Linked DNA regions of Homo sapiens: region 1 is linked to region 2. Evidence: promoter capture Hi-C in human tissues and cell types (Jung and others, 2019). All regions are on one chromosome and are shown on one strand. The core of a region is centred on a gene start or on the middle of the fragment in contact, and the rest is flanking DNA. Distances in the headings are between cores, read along the strand shown.

Region 1 (2,700 bases), core at 195-2,694, 40 kb before region 2:
AAGAGAAAAAAGCAGGCTTGAGCAGCTTTTAAAATATGGTCTTAAAATATGGAAATTGGAGCCATGTGTGGTGGCTCACACTTGTAATCCCAGCACTTTGGGAGCCTGAGGTGGGAGGATTGCTTGAGGTCAAAAGTTTGAGACCAGCCTAGGCAGCATAGCAAGATCCCCATCGTTACAAAAAATAATAATTTTTTAAAAAATCAGCTGGATGTGGTGGTGCATGCCTTAGAGTCCTAGTTACTTGGGCGGCTGAGGTAGGAGGAGCTCTTGAGCCCAAGAGTTCAAGTCTGCAGTGAGCTACAATTGCACCACTGTACTCTAGCCTGGGAAACAAAGTGAGACTCTCTCTCTCTCTCTCTCTCTCTCTCTCTCTCTCTCTCTCTCTATATATATATATATATATATATATATATATATATACACATACACACACACACACACATACATACATATATATGTATGTATATATACACATATATATGTATGTATATATACACATATATATGTATGTATATATACACATATATATGTATGTATATATACACATATATATGTATGTATATATATACATACATATACATACATATATATGTGGAAAAGGGAAGGGGCCAAGAATGTCAAAGACATTATTAAAGAAAAGGAAAGATTTCTCCTGCCAAATATCAGAAGTTTTATAAAGCTACAGCAATTAAGATAGTGTGGTCTTCATTGATAAACTGACCAATGAAACAGAATAGAGAGCTCCCAAACAAATCTCCACAAATTTAATATTTGATATGTGATGCAGGTGACATGGCAGATCAGCAAAGAAAGAAAGGACTTTTCAATACATAGGAAAGAAAAATAATGGTTACTGATATAGGAAACAAAATGAAATTATATTCCTTCTTCGCTCTATATACAAACATTAAATTCCAGATGGACCAAAGACTTATGTGTCAGAAACAAAACTTTAAAACTTTTAGTAGAAAATGTAAGTGAATGAGACACAAAAAGCCATTTAACCATTAAAAAAGATTAGATGTTTTGACTATCACAAAATTGAGAACTTTTTACATCAAAAAGTGAAAAGATAAGCTGGGCATGGTGTCTCAAGCCTGTAATCCCAACAGTAGATCACCTGAGGTCAGGAGTTTGACACCAGGCTGGCCAACATGGTGAAACCCTGTCTCCACTGAAAATATAAGAAATTAGCCAGGCATTGGTGGCAGACACTAGCAATCCCAGCTACTTGGGAAGCTGATGCACGAGAATCTTCTGAACCCGGGAGGTGGAGGTTACAGTGAGCCACTGCACTCCAGCCTGAATGGCAGAGTGAGACTCTGTCTCAAAAAAAAAGTAAAAATTAAAAAATAAAAGTAAAAAAGTGAAAAGATAAACTATAAACTAGAAGAAGATATTTGCAGTACCTAAAACCTATGAAAGATTAATATCAAATCAACAAAGTATAAGGAGTTCCTATGAATTAATTTTAAAAATAGCATCCCAAAAGAAAATTGGGAAAAGACATTAATAGGGATTTCACAAAAGAGAATGCCCCCAAAACATAAAAATTTTCTCATCCTCATTAGTAATCAAGAAAATGCACAAGATACTACATATCTATTCGCTCCACAAATATTAAGAAGTTTGACAATACCAAATGTATTAGTCGACATTCACGCTGCTGATAAAGACATAACTGAGACTGGGAAGAAAAAGAGGCTTAATGGATTTATGGTTCCACATGGCCAAGGAGGCCTCAGAGTCATAGCAGTGGATGAAAGGCACTTCTTACATGGCAGTGGCAAGAGAATATGAGAAGGAAGCAAAAGACGAAACCCCTGATAAACCCATCAGATCCTGTGAGACTTATTCACTATAACAAGAATAGCATGGGAAAGACCAGCCCAAGGGATTCAACTACCTCCCCCTGGGTCCCTCCCTTAACACATGGGAATTCTGAGAGATACAATTGAAGCTGAGATGTGGGTAGGTACATAGCCAAACCATATTAATCTGCTCCTGGCCCCTCCAAATCTCATGTCCTCACATTTCAAAACCTATCATGCCTTCCCAACAGTCCCCCAAAGTCTTAACTCATTTCAGCATTAACCCAAATGTCTGCTGTCCAAAGTCTCATCTGATAAAAGGCAAGTCTCTTCTGCCTATGAGCCTGTAAAATCCAAAGCAAGCTAGTTACTTCCTAGATACAATGGGGGTACAGGTAATTGAGTAAATACAGCTGTTCCAAATGGGAGAAATTGGCCAAAACAAAGGGGTTACAGGCCCCATGCAAGTCCTAAATCCAGCCAGGTAGTCAAATTTTAAAGCCCCAAAATGATCTCCTTTGACTCCATGTTTCACATCAAGGTCATGCTGATGCAAGAGGTGGACTCCCATGGCCTTGTGTAGTTCTGCCCCTGTAGCTTTGCAGGGTATAGCCCACCTCCTGGCTGTTTTCATGGGCTGATGTTGAGTGTCTGAAGCTTTTCCAGGCTCATGGTGCAAGGTATCTGGGGTCTGGAGGACAGTGTCCCTCTTCTCACAGCTCCACTAGGAAGTGCTCCAGTAGGGACTCTGTGTAGGGGCTCTGATCCTTCCACATTTCCCTTCCACATGGCCCTAGCAGAGGTTCTCCATGAGAGCCCCACCCCTGTAGCAAACTTCTGCTTGGACATCCAGGCGTTTTCATACATCCTCTGAAATCTAGGTGGA
Region 2 (2,962 bases), core at 154-2,653:
CACCAGTCAGAATGGCTCTTCTTAAAAAGTCAAAAAAGGACAGATGCTGGCAAGGGTGTGGAGAAAAAGGAGCACTTACAGATTATTGGCGGTGGTGTAAATTAGCTCACCCATTGTGGAAAGCAGTGTGGTGATTCCTCAAAGAGCTTATAACAGAACTACCATTAAACCCCGCAATCCCATTACTGGGAATGGTGTATACACTACTGTATACACAGAAGAATAGAAATTATTCTGCCTTAAAGACATATGCATATGAATGTTCATTGCAACACTGTGCACAATAGCAAAGACACAGAATGAACCCAAATGCCATCAAGGACAGATTGGATACAGATAATGTGATACATATACACAATGGAATACTATGAAGCCCTAAAAAAGAATGAGTTCATGTCTTTTGCAGGAACATGGATGGAGCTGGAGGCCATTATTTTTAGCAAACTAATGCAGGAACAGAAAACCAAATACTGCATGTTCTCACTTATAATTGTGAACTAAATGATGAGACTCATGGACACCAATAGGGGAACAACACACACAGAAGCCTACTTGAGGTTGGAGGGTGAAAGGTGAGATAGGAGCAGAGAAAATAACTATTGGGTACTACGCTTAGTACCCAGGTGAAGAAATCATATGTACCACAAACCTCATGACATGACTTTATCTGCATATGTACCCCTGAACCTATAATAAAAGTAAAAAAAAAGAAAAAAGAAAAAAAATCTCATCTTTCTCCCAGAATCTGCAGGAGAAACAATATCTCTGAAACTTTGTTTTACATGGACTCCAAGACAAAGCAGAGAATGCAGCTAGAGCCCAGGTATGTGACAGACAGATGAGAGTGACCCTCACCTGGCAGATCCAAGGGGCCTAGTGTGAGGCAGGTTCATGCAAGAACTATCTCTACTTCTCTTCCCAGATCCTCCTGAGGATCAAGGTCAAAAGGATCTGACCCTTAAAGGCCCTCCCAGAACCTTTAAAGGCAAAGAGAAGAATTACCTTCTAGGTCTAACGTCTTTTTCCAAAATTCCCAATTTTTTATTTTTAGTCATTGTACAAATTGAGGAAATGTACACCTTCTGGCTAGATTCTGCATACTGGAGAAAAAGCTTGAGAGGCACAAAGGCTGGGCTTTACAATCCCTACCCCTCACTCCATCATCCTTATCTATGCATTTCCCTGGTAACCCAATCCACAGCCTGGTACCTCCCCCACTGTCATTTCTGCTGCATTACAGACACAGACCTGCAAACATCTATGGTTGTGACAGAGTTTCTTTCTGACACCTGAGTCTTTCTCCTGCTGCACGGAAAGCTTGCTGGGAGGGGCTTGGAATCTGGCATGAAGCCAAAGGGCATCTCTGAGTTGCAGCATTTAAATGATCCCACTCAGAGATTCACACAGAAGACTGGACACAATTCCGAAGAGCTGCCCAGAAGGAGAGAACAATGTCATCACTACCCGTGAGTTGAAAAGTCACAGCCTTCAATAATCTCAAGTCACATAAACCAAGAAAGAAACAGGGGAGGTTTTCTGAGTTGAAAATATGAGCATTCCTACTGTGAATGCATTACCGAGAGTTGTGGGTGTGTAGAAGAGAAACCCTGAGGCTGTGGTATCTGAGATGATTGTGGGTGTAGGCTGTGGACCCTGGACCAGTGTAACCCTCTGTGAGGGTGTGGTGGTGTCTGATGAGAGTGAACTCTGCTGAGATTAAGTGACTTTAGGTGGGAGGTGGATGACCCACCAGGACCGGCAAGTGTGTGAGTGAGTGTAAGGGGGTGAGTGTGCTTTGTCTTCCTGTCTGTGATGTGAGTGTGTGTGGGCACAGCCAGACCAGTGCATGGTCATCTTTATGTGCACAGTGAGCAGGTGTGTGTAACTCAGTGAGTGGCATGGCTCTGTGTGACTATGGGTGTGTGTGCTGGGATGTGACTGGGTATTGAAGGGAAAACATGCACGTGGCCTTCTGTGCATGTGAAGGTTCCTCCCCACACAGCAGCACCTCTGATGAAGCACCTGTGTGTCTTTTCATGTGTGGCAATGTGGATCCCAAGTGGCTTAACTGGTGGGGATCTTGGGGATTGTGAGTTACCAAGGACTCGTTTCAGATCACTTATGAGAGCGAAATATATCATCAGTAGATATCTCTTCCCAGTAAGAGTGAGGAAAAGGAACGCAGATTATGGGAGAGATGGTTCCTCAGGTGGGGACTGCACAGAGTGATCACTGGCTTTTGCCTCCCAGGCTCAGCTTCCCTGTCGCTAGCCCAGCCTGTTCTTCCCATTGTGGAACAGGCGAGTGTGAAGATACTGATTTGCCAGGGAAGAATATTAGAGGCCGTGGTTAAAGAGACGGAATCAAACAAAATATCCACTGTAAGCTCTGTCTGAACTGAGACTAAACTTGTTCCTCCACTCATGAAAGAACAAGCTGTCTGAATTCAGACAGTGCTTACTGTGGACATTACTCAACAAAGCAGCTGGGTTCACTGGTTCATGACTATAATCCCACCAATTTGGGAGGCAAAGATGGGAGGGTAACTTGAGGCCAGAAATTTGAGACCGGTCTAGGCATCATAGTGATATGCTTTCTTTAAAAATCTTTAAATATCTGACTGGCAGAGTGGCAGACACCTTTCACCCCAGCTACACAAGAGGGGGCAGATGTGTGAGGATCACTGCAGTCCAGGAGTTCGATGTTTCAGTGAGCTGTGATTGCACCACTGCATATCAGCCTGGGTGACAGAGCAAGACCCTATCTCAAAAATACAGAAAAATCATCAACCACTTGCAGTCGTCGTAGAAATCAATCATTCCCTCCAGTTATGTCCCTGACCCACAGGCTTCATTTGTGCAAGTACTGGGGCTGTGCTGTCAGTAATGTGTGCCGCTTCTGGGAAGGACGTCCATTGCCCTTGATGATTGTGGTGCGTGTACATCCCACACACAGGGGTTTC

What was found. Contacts are between HindIII fragments. The study calls those that stand out against the background at their distance.
Region 1: a contact is called between a fragment that was not itself captured here and the fragment with the promoter of LGALS14 in region 2, in 1 of the 25 tissues and cell types used here (adrenal gland).

The regions. Positions count from the first base shown.
Region 1 is chr19:39,663,402-39,666,101 of GRCh38, forward strand. No RefSeq gene overlaps it. Among named protein-coding and RNA genes, the nearest start is that of LGALS16, 8.8 kb to the left of the region's middle. The HindIII fragment of the contact is 4,209 bases long and covers 1-2,700 here.
Region 2 is chr19:39,703,078-39,706,039 of GRCh38, forward strand. LGALS14 (galectin 14) reads left to right here and starts at 1,404. Exons shown (of 4, transcript NM_020129.3): 1 at 1,404-1,466. The coding sequence starts at 1,452. RefSeq lists enhancers at 1,311-1,440, 1,461-1,550. The HindIII fragment of the contact is 10,211 bases long and covers 1-2,962 here.